Regions from separate parts of the Homo sapiens genome. Here region 2 is linked to region 1. The links are contacts of gene promoters, found by promoter capture Hi-C in human tissues and cell types (Jung and others, 2019). All regions are on one chromosome and are shown on one strand. Each heading gives the region's core, a stretch centred on a gene start or on the middle of the fragment in contact. The rest is flanking DNA. Distances are from core to core; before and after follow the strand shown. Region 1 holds the start of NXNL2 (nucleoredoxin like 2). Region 2 has its middle 140 kb from the start of DAPK1.

Region 1 (5,384 bases), core at 41-2,540:
CCCCAAAAGCAGAACAATCAATCCCTGTAATCCCCTCTCTGCCAATCCCTACCCCCTCCTTTGCAACAGTTAGAGTAATAAAGTTTATAGTAATGAGTTTTATGCTTCTCTAGTGATGAAATTCCATCAGTGTCGGTAAAAATGAAACCGCAAAGGTGGCCAGCACCTGGGTTCCTGCCAGCCTTGAAGCCCCCGTCCCTCCCTCCCAGCAAACCAACCACGGCCTGCACTGTGGGTGCCTGTCACAGAGCTGATGTCCTCGCGGGTCATCCCTCATCCCCGCATCCAGACACCGGGTCATGTCCCTGTGCTTCCTGCCCACTAACTGGGAGGATGACGCAGCGGCGCCGGGAGTCCAGGGCTGATTGGGCCGGCGGTTCCCGGAGCCGAGCCCGCGAACTCACAGCATCACCACCACTGGGAGCTCCTTCGCAATGCAGATTCCCGGAGCTCCAGACCCCAGGCAGAAACGCGCCCGCGTCCATGCTCCACGAGCCCCCTTGGGGTGCCGATGCCCTGGGTTTTCGAATCTGGTCTGCACCCTCCCTGGTCTCCAAGAGAGGTTGAAACTGAGACTGAGTGTGATTTACCGGAGTCCGGACGTGAACCGAGAGACGGGGAGGTGTTGGGGGGGGGCGTCATAAAGAGCTCCCCAGTGCAGAGGGGGAGGCCTGGGGGAACATGGGGGAGACGTGCCGGGCGGCCCCCGCCCCCCCAGGACCCCCACTCACTGCCGGTAGGGGTCGTGGAAGGGCAGCGCCAGCCAGGCGCCATGCAGCTCGCGCATGAAGTCCAGCATCTCCTGGGAGCTGCCGTCGGCTGACACGAAGACCACTTCGAAGGGCGCGGGCCGCCGCGCCTCGGCCACCAGCGCCGTATAGAAGTCGCAGAGCAGCGGCGTGAAGTCGCGGCTCGGCGCGCACCGGGCCGCCGCGAAGTACAGTGCCACCACCTTGTTCTGCAGCGCCGCCTCGGCCTCCACCGTCGCGCCCTTACAGGTCACCAGGTGCCGCTCGCCCAGAATGTCAACCATGGCGCAGACACGCAGCCACCTGAGACCCGAGGACACCTGCAGGAGGATGATCACCTGCGGGGAGGCGGCGGCGAGCGCCGCGGTGCCCCGCCTCTGTCCGCACCACCGGGCGCTGGACCTCTCAAGACCTGCCCCAGATGCGCCCACACCTTGGCCAGGCCTCGCCTGTGGCTGGAGCAATTGTGTTCGCGCCGACAATGAGACACTCAGACACCAGAGACCCCAGATACCTGGGCGACAGCGCGGCACCCGCCTCTGGGAGCGGGGCCAGCCAGGCAACCTCAAGCCCTCAGGTCTCTGCACCCTCCCCCAACTGCGCCCCGCCCACACTCCTGCGCCCTCCCACCACTGCGCCCCGCCCACATTCCCCGCAAGCTCCCCAACTGCGCCCCGCCCACATTCCGCACTCTCCACCCACTGCGCCCCGCCCACATCCCGCACTCTCCACCCACTGCGCCCCGCCCACATCCCCGCCCCCGCCCCCACTGCGCCTCGCCCGCATCCCCACACTGTCCCCCACTGCGCTGGGCCCACATCCCTACACTCTCCACCCACTGCGCCCCGCCCACATCTCCGCACCCTCCCCCACCGCACCCCGCCCACATCCCCGCACTCTCCTCCAACTGCGCCTCGCCCACATTCCACAGTTTCCCCTCACTGCGCCCCGCCCACATCCCCGCACTCTTCTCCAACTGCGCCTCGCCCACATTCCACAGTTTCCCCTCACTGCGCCCCGCGCACACTCCCGCTCCCTCCCCCACTGCGCCCCGCCCACACTCCCGCGCCCTCCCCCTCACTGCGGCCCGCCGACATCCCGCGCCCCCGCCCCCATCCCGACTGCGCCCCGCCCACCTCCCGCGCCCTCTCCCACTGGTTGTCCAGCCCACATCCTGCACTCCCTCCACTGCGCCCCGCTCACACTCCCGCACCCTCCCCACACTGCGCCCTGCCCACACTCCTGCACTCTCTCCCCACTACGCCCCCTACCACATCCCGCGCCCCCGCCCCCATCCCCACTGCGCCCCGCCCACACTCCCGCGCCCTCGCGCCCCTGGGCTCTCCCGTCGTGGGCACTCTCCCCAGCGCTTCTACACTTTCTCCCGACGCAGCGCCCTGCCCTCCGTCCCGCCCCACCTATTGCCTCCTGCGCTTCCCCCACACCGTGCTCTTCCTCCTCCTTCACTTCCTCCCACTCCTCGCGCTCCCCTTCAGCGCCCCACGCAGCCCCTCCCCCAAAACCCCGCGTCGCTCTCCTTCCCTCCTGGCCTCTCTTCCAGTCTCGCGCTCCCTGCCGGGCCCCGCCGCAGGTGTCCCGCAGCCGTCTCCCCAGGGCATTTGAATCTTGCCTTGGAGCTCTTGCCGCGCGGCCCAGCACCCTGGAAGAGGCATCAGGGAGGATGGGACGACGAGGAAGGGGAAGGGTAATTGGGCTTGGAGCGGGCTTGGGCGGGGTGGTAGGGAACCTGAGCTCCGTTGGTTCAGGGTGTTTGCCCCTGACATCCTGTGGCCTGGCTGGGAGGGTTCGTGAAGTTCAGGAAGAAATTGGGAGCAGTCCTTACAGAATGTTTTATTTGAAGAACCAAGAGTATTAATTTTTTGGCGAGCACTGTTGTAGGCCCTGGGAATTCAGCAGTGAGAAAAATAATTTCAACTCCCTGCCAGACCCGGGCTAGAAGGAGGCAAGCGAGCGAGGCACTCGCATAGGGGCAAAATTTAAGGGCGCGACAAAAAAACTCAGTAGTCAAGGTAAATAATGTTTTAATACAATATCTTAAAAAGTCAAAATGAATGCAAAAAAAGTTTATAATGAACAAAATATCAAAAACTTAAAGACAGTGAATGAAACCAAAATATGCCATCCTAAAATATGCCGCTTTGGTATATTGATTATTTTGAGCGAGAGGCACTTGAAAAATAGCAAATGCAGAGAGACGTTCTCCCCTTACCTGTCTAAAGACGGAACCTCCAAAAGAAACTGATTGTCGTAAATTCCCTCCCGGGAGGATGGACTCTTATCACAGCAGAAGTCCACACCACACCTAGACAAACTTTGTCACAAACTCATAAAGACTTATGCATCTTTCCTAAAAATCAGTTACTCTCCCCTAAGTGGCCTACACCAGCTTCCAGTTCCCCAATTTTAGAAGCTCTCAAAGCTCACTGGTTTGGGGGGTTTTCACCTAGTTTCCTGCAATGCCCCCATGCAGGTGATATTAAAGATTAATAAATGTGTATTCCCGTTCCCCCCGTTCATCTGCCCGTTGGCAGTTAATTTCATAGAGCCAGCTATGGAACTGGGGAGGACAGAGAGAAGGTCTTTGCTCTCCTAAGACAAGATGGATCCCCCACTGACTTTGGACTCCCGTCACGTTCACCGACCCCTGAGTCCTGCTCCTGTGCCTGCCTGGAGCTTATGTTCTAACGGGCACAAACAATAAATAAGGAAGATATTTTGCAGGTGCTATGCCAAAAGAAGAGCCATGAGGAGGGGCGCAGGTTTTTGTTTTGTTTTATTTTGGTTTGGTTTGGTTGGTTGGTTGAGATGGAGTCTCGCTCTTGTTGCCCAGGCTGGAGTGCAATGGCGTGATCTCGGCTCACTGCAACCTCCGCCTCCCGGGTTCAAGCAATTCTCCCGCCTCAGCCTCCTGAGTAGCTGGGATTACTGGCGCGTGCCACCACGCCCAGCTAATTTTTGTATTTTTAGTAGAGACGGGGTTTCATCATGTTAGCCAGGCTGGTCTCAAACTCCTGACTTCAGGTGATCTACCCACCTCTGCCTCCCAAAGTGCTGGAATTACAGGCTTGAGCCACCGAGGGGCGCAGTTTTAATCTAGCGGTGAGAGGAGTCAGGGAAGGTGAAATTTGCGCTTCCTGAGGACCCGCCTGCCGGCCCGGGCTCCCCCAGTCTCGCCGTTAAATGAACGGAAATTGGCGGACGCCGTTGCCTGCAGGCACAGCCCGTCGGCTCGGTTGCGTAAATGTACTTAGCAGCCAAAGCTCAGTGGAAACCCTGCGGGAGGATTGATTGGCGCTCTTAGGTGAAGCAGGCTGTCAAGAGCCCCGATTCACTGTCCTCTGGGGAAAATGGATAGACAAATCGGAGGAAAAAATTGAGAGGAACTGTGAGCAGTATAAATCTTGCATGAGGAGGCCCCTGACTTACGTTAAAACTCAGAGGTAAGAGGAATGAAATGCAGCTAAGCTCTCAAAATCATCCAGACTATTTTGTTTTGTCATCTTATCCTTGAACACACAATGAGCCAAAGTAGACAGCATTCCTAATTAGTTGACGGTGCCACCCTCCCGAGAAAATTAACGGTCATTCGCATTAATACTGCCTGCCCTGGGGAACTCACCCAACCTCCATCCAGGAATGGATCGCACTTCCTGCTGCCGATGTCGGGGGCAGGGCGGCTTCCTAGGCATGCAGACCCTCAGAGGCACAGGGCCCTGCACTCACTTGGGGCTCAGTGTTCTGCGGTTGCAGTCTTTGTTGTTTTGTTTTTTGTTTAGAAACTGAATCTCACTCTCTTACCCAGGCTGGAGTGCAGTAGTGGGATCATAGCTCACTGCAGCTTCCAACTCCTGGGCTCCAGGGATCCTCCCGCCTCAGCCTCCTGAGTAGCTAGGACTATAGCCACATGCCACTATGCAAGGCTAATTGTTTTTATTATTATTATTATTATTTTTTAGAGATGGGGTCTCCCTCTGTTGCCCAGCCTGGTGATTTTTTTTTTTTTTTTGGATGGAGTCTCGCTCTGTGGCCCAGGCTGGAGTGCAATGGCGTGATCTCAGCTCACTGCAACCTCCACCTCCCAGGTTCAAGTGATTCTTCTGCCTCAGCCTCCCGTGTAGCTGGGACTACAGGTGCACGCCACCACGCCTGGCTAATTTTTTTATTTTTAGTAGAGACGGGGTTTCACCATATTGACCAAGCTGGTCCCTAACTCCTGACCTCGTGATCCGCCCGCCTCAGCCTCCCAAAGTGCTGGGATTACAGGCGTGAGCCACCGCACCCAGCCAAAATTCTTAATTTATCTTTGAATTTGTGTGGTATATGAGAGGTCTTGGACAGTGGCACATATGTGAGTGTTTGGACCCTAGCTCATGTGTGCTCCCACCTGCCACTGCCTCCCTACCTCCCCAAGACAGGTTCTTCTTCTTATTATTATTATTTTGAGACTGAGTCCCACTCTGTCACCCAGGCTAGAGTGCAGTGCTGTGATCTCAGCTCACTGCAACCTCCGCTTCCTGGCTTCAAGCAATTCTCCCTGCCTCAGCGTCCCGAGTAGGTGGGATTACAGACACCTGCCACCACGCCCAACTAATTTTTGTATTTTTAGTAGACACG
Region 2 (5,302 bases), core at 677-3,176, 1.2 Mb after region 1:
CTTTAAGGCCAATAACTCTTAGATTTAAACTTTAGAGATATTTTCTAGATCCCGTAGGTGTGCAACATTTCTTTTTATTTTTTTCTTTTGTCTCTTCTGACTGTGTATCTTCAAATAGGCTGTCTTCAAGCTCACTAATTCTTTCTTCTGCTTAATCAACTCTGCTGTTAAGAGACGCTGATGCATTCTTCAGTATGTCAATTGCATTTTTCAACACCAGAATTTCTGCTTAATTATTTCAATCTCTTTGTTAAATTTATCTGATAGGATTCTGAATTCCTTTTCTGTGTTATCTTAAATTTCACTAAGTTATCTTATAACAGCTATTTTGAATTCTGTCTGAAAGGTTGCATACCTCTGTCTTTCTGGAATTGGTTACTGGTGCCTTATTGAGTTTGTTTGATGAGGTCACGTTTTCTTGGATGGTCATGCTTGTGGATGTTTGTCAGTATCTGGGCATTGAAGAGTTAAGTATTTATTGTAGTCTTTGTAGTCTGGGCTTGTTTGTACCAGTCCTTGGGAAGGCGTTCTAGGTATTCAAAGGGACTTGTGTTATGTAATCTATGTTTTTGGTCACTATACCCATATCTGGGCACCCCAAACCCAGTAATGCTGCGGTTCTTGCAGACTTGTAGAGGTACTGCCTTGGTGGTCTTGGATAATATCCAGAAGAATTCTCTGGATTACCAGGCAGAGTCTCTTGTTCTCTTCTTTTACTTTGTCCCAAACAAACAAAGTCTCTCTCTCTGTGCTGAGCTCCCTGGAGCTGGGGGAGGAGTGACACAAACACCCCTGTTGCCACCACTGGGACTATGCTGGGTCAGATCTGAAGCCAGCATAACATTGGATCTCACCCAATGCCTGTGATAATCCCTGCCTGGCTACTGCCTATGTTCACTCAAGGCTCTAGAGCTCTACATCAGTAGATGGCAAAGCAATCCAGGCTTGTTTCCTTCCCTTCAGGATGGCAAGTTCCCTCTGGCCTTGGGAAGGTCTAGAGATGTTATCTTGGAGCCAGGGTCTGTAGTCAGAAACCTTAGGAATCTACTTGGTACTCTATTCTACTGCAGCTGAGCTGGCATCCAAGCCACAAGACAAAGTCCTTCCCACTCTTCTCTCCTCTTTTCATAAGCAGAAGAGTCTCCCCCTGTGGCCACCACTACCCCAGACCTGCAATGAGTACTGCCTGGCCACCACGAATGTTCACTCTCAAGGCTCAAGTGCTTTTTAATCAGCTTGAGGTGAATGCTGCCAGTTCTAGGACTCTCCCTTGAAGGCTGTGGGCTCCCAGGCCAGGTCTAGAAATTCCATCCAAGAGCCAAGGCCTGAAATCAGAGACCCCAGGAGCTCACTCAGTCTTCTACTCCACTGTGGCTGAGCTTCTACCTAAGCTGCAAGACAAAGTCCTTTCTACTCTTCCCTCTCTTTTTCTCAAGCAGCAGGAATCTCTCCCCATAGTCACAACAGCTGGGAATGTGGTGGTCATGCCTAAAGTCAACACATTTCTGAGTCTCATCCAAAGCCCATGATGAGTACTGCCTAGGTATCACTGCCAATTATCCAGGGCCAAAGGGCTCTTTAGTGCACAGGTGATGAATCCTGTTGGGACTGGGCCCTTCCCTTCAAGACAGTGGGCTCTCTTCTGGCCCAACATGTGTCTAGAAATGTTCAGGAGCTAGAGCCTGGAATGGAGGCCTCAGGACTCTGCCTGGTGCCCTATCATATTATGGCTGAGCTGGCATCCAAGTTGCAAGACAAAGTTCTCTTTACTCTTCCCTCTTCTCTCCTCAAGCAGAGTAAAGGAATATCTCCCAGAGCTGCGAGCTGTACTGCCTGGAGCATTCTCTTTGCCTCTCCAGCTGGTGTCTCACTACATCATGTGCCCCCAAGTCCACTGGCTCTGAACCCAGCACAGTATCAGGACTTGCCCAGGAATTATAGTCCTTATGGCCTAGATTGCCTTGCAAGTTTATTTAGGACCCAGAGAACTTTAGTCCACAGAGGTGAGGCTTGCCAGAACTCACGTTCCAACTGTTCGGATGGGCAATTCCCCTCTGGTTAAGGCAGTCCAAATTCTCCTTCTATAGGTGCTGGCTGAGTGCTGCCCAGTGTGCTTTCTGCTGTCATAGAGCTGAACTGTGTTTTAATGGAAAGTCCCACAGTCACTGCACTTTCTCTCTCCCAAGCACACAGATTCTCTCTGTGCCACATGGCTGCTGCTGGAGGATGGGGGAGGGGGGCATTGGTAATTCAAGACTATCTTTTCTACTCTTTTCAGCATCTCTGTCAAGGATATAAAATTAAAAACAGGTACTGTGATCACTCACCTAATTTTTGGTTCTTACAAAGCTGCTTTTTGCATAGATAGTTGTTTGATTTGGTGTTCCTTTAGGGAGGATGATCAGTGAAGTCCTCTATTTGGCTATCTTGCTGTGCCTCCTGAAAAGACGTGATCAAATATTTCTTAATCCATGAGTACAACAAGGCTGGTTTAATATTCAAAAAACAGTAGATGTAATCTTCCATGTTGATAGATTAAGAAAGGAAAACTGTATGATCATTTAAATAAATGTCAAAAAGGCATTTGACAAAAATCAAAAATCAAAATAGAAACAAATTTTTTCAACCTTGTAAAGGGATTAATAAAAAACCTATGTCTAACATCATACTTAATACTTAGAGACTGATATTTCTCCCCAATATCAGAAGCAAGTAAAAAATGTCTGTCTTACTACTTTTATTCAAAATTTTTTCAAAATGTCAAGCCTTCGCAAAAGGCAAAAAAAAAAAAAAAAAAAAAGGAAAAAGGAATGAAACGCATGGTAGCAAAATTGGAAATGAAGAAGTAAAACTGTTAGTATTAGCTAACAATATGATTTTCTATATAGAAAATTCTACCAAATCTCCAAAATGCTGCTAGAACTGCTACTCTTACCTTAATAATAATGTGCTATTCAAAATCAATATAGAAATCAATATAAAAAGTCAATTTTATTTCTATGTATTAATACTAGCAACAAAAAACCCCATTCATTGTAAGTAAAGAAACAGCACAATTTACATAGTATAAAAAGGTACTTAAGAGTAAATCTTACAAAAGATACACCAGACCTGAAAACTACAAAACATTACTGAAAAAAAAATTAAAGAATGCTCAAATAAATAGATATACCATGTTCATGGATTGTAAGACTCATCTTATTGTTAAGATGTCAGCTCTCCTTGAATTGATCTGTAGTTTCAATGCATTTCTTTTTTTGTTTGTTTTTTGTTTGTTGTTTGTTTTTGTTTGTTTGTTTGTTTTTTGAGATGGAGTCTTACTCTCTTGCCCAGGCTGGAGTGCAGTGGCATGATCTTCGGCTCACTGCAAGCTCCACCTCCCGGGTTCATACCATTCTCCTGCCTCAGCCTCCCAAGTAGCTGGGACTATAGGCGCCTGCCACCACGCCCAGCTAATTTTTTGTATTTTTTAGTAGAGATGGGGTTTCACCATGGTCTCAATCTCCTGACCTCATGATCCGCCTGCCTCGGCCTCCCAAAGTGCTGGGATTACAGGCATGAGCCACTGTGCCTGGCCAGTTTCAATGCATTTCTACACAAAATTCCATCAGACTGTTTTCTAGAAGTTGACAAGCTGATTCTAAAATGCATATAGAAATGCAAATGATCTAGAATGTCTAAAACAAACTTGTAAGGGAAAAACAAAATTAGAAAACTTTCACTATTTGACTTCTGGCTTCTTCCCTAGATACAGTAATCAAGACAGTGTGTTCTTGTTGTTAACATGGACAAGTAAATTAATAAAACAGAATAAAAAGCTCAGAAAGAGCCCATCACTCATCTGGTTAATTCACATATTCAAAAATTAACTAAAAGGGAATCATAAAGCTAAATGTAAAACCCCAAACTATAAAACTTCCAGAAGAAAACATAAGAGAATATCTGTGTTATCTTAATTAAGGCAAAGCTTTCTTACAAAAAATATCAATAGCATGATTTGTAAAAGAAAAAACTTACGGATTAGACTTCATCAAACTTAAGACTTCTGTTCTTAGGGGAACAGATTTCAGAGAATGAAAATCTCTTTTTTTTTTTTTTGAGACAGTCTCACTATATCACCCAGGCTGGAGTGCAGTGGCACGATCTCAGCTCACTGCAACCTCCGCCTTCTGGGATCAAGCGATTCTCCTGCCTCAGCCTCCCAATTAGCTGGGATTACAGGCACCTGCCACCATGCCTGGCTAATTTTTTGGATTTTTAATAGAGATGGGGTTTTCAGGATGGTCTCGATCTCCTGACTTTGTGATCCACCCGCCTTGGCCTCCCAAAGTGCTGGGATTACAGGCATGAGCCACCACACCTGGCTGAAAATCTCTTAAATGAAAGATAGGTCATAGACAGAGAGAAAAATGTGTGCATATTATGTATTTGACTAAGTAATCATATCCATTATATATAAAAACTTGAGACTCAATAAGAAGAAAACAAAAAATTAATACAAATGATCAAAATATTTAAACATGTACTTAAGGAAGATTTATGGATTTATTTAAACACACAAAATGATGCTCAGCATCATTAGTCATTAGAGAATTGTAAATCAGCACAATGGATTATCACATGCACCTATTGAAATGGTTTAAAATTGACCACACTAATTATTGATGAGGATGTGAAATAGCTGGAACTCTCATACACTTCTGTTGGAAGTGTACAATGATACGGCCATTTTGGAAAACATTTTGGCAATTTTTTCAAAAGTTAAAAATATACATATTGTATGATTCAACTGTTGAGTTCTTATTTACTCAAGATAAATAAAATTATATGTCTATACAAACACTTGCACACAAATGTTCATAGTAGTTTTATTTGTAATAGCTCCAAACTGGAAACAACTAAAGTATCCATCAATATATGAGTGGATAAACAAACTGATGGAGCCACACAATAGAATCTAATTATACTAGTGAAAAAGGAGTAAGCTATTGATATACACAACTGTTACATGAAATAAGCTAGCCGAATATAGAGTACCTACTCTGTGATTTCATTTATATAGAATTCTAGAAAATGCTATCTAATTCATAATTACAGAAAGCAGATCAGTGGTTGCCTGGAAATGGGGATGGGAGAAGGGAAAATTGGAGAGGTGCAGGAGGGAGGGGTTATCAAGGGATACAAAGATTTTTTTAGATGAATGAGCTTATTATTTGACTGTGGTAAGGGTTTCACTGATGTACACATATGTCAGACTTATCAGGTTTTACACTATAAACATGCTCAGGTTTATTTTTTTTTG

The links. The method cuts DNA at HindIII sites, captures the fragments that hold promoters and counts their contacts. A contact is called where the count stands out against the background at its distance.
Region 2: a contact is called between a fragment that was not itself captured here and the fragment with the promoter of NXNL2 in region 1, in 1 of the 25 tissues and cell types used here (dorsolateral prefrontal cortex).

The regions. Positions count from the first base shown.
Region 1 is chr9:88,531,084-88,536,467 of GRCh38, reverse strand. It overlaps NXNL2 (nucleoredoxin like 2), which reads right to left and starts at 1,290. Exons shown (of 2, transcript NM_001161625.2): 1 at 732-1,290. The coding sequence starts at 1,033. LOC105376134 (a long non-coding RNA gene) reads left to right here and starts at 1,928. Exons shown (of 2, transcript XR_007061653.1): 1 at 1,928-2,454. RefSeq lists enhancers at 1-669, 670-1,504. The HindIII fragment of the contact is 10,556 bases long and covers 1-5,384 here.
Region 2 is chr9:87,355,675-87,360,976 of GRCh38, reverse strand. No RefSeq gene overlaps it. Among named protein-coding and RNA genes, the nearest start is that of DAPK1, 140 kb to the left of the region's middle. The HindIII fragment of the contact is 7,043 bases long and covers 1-5,302 here.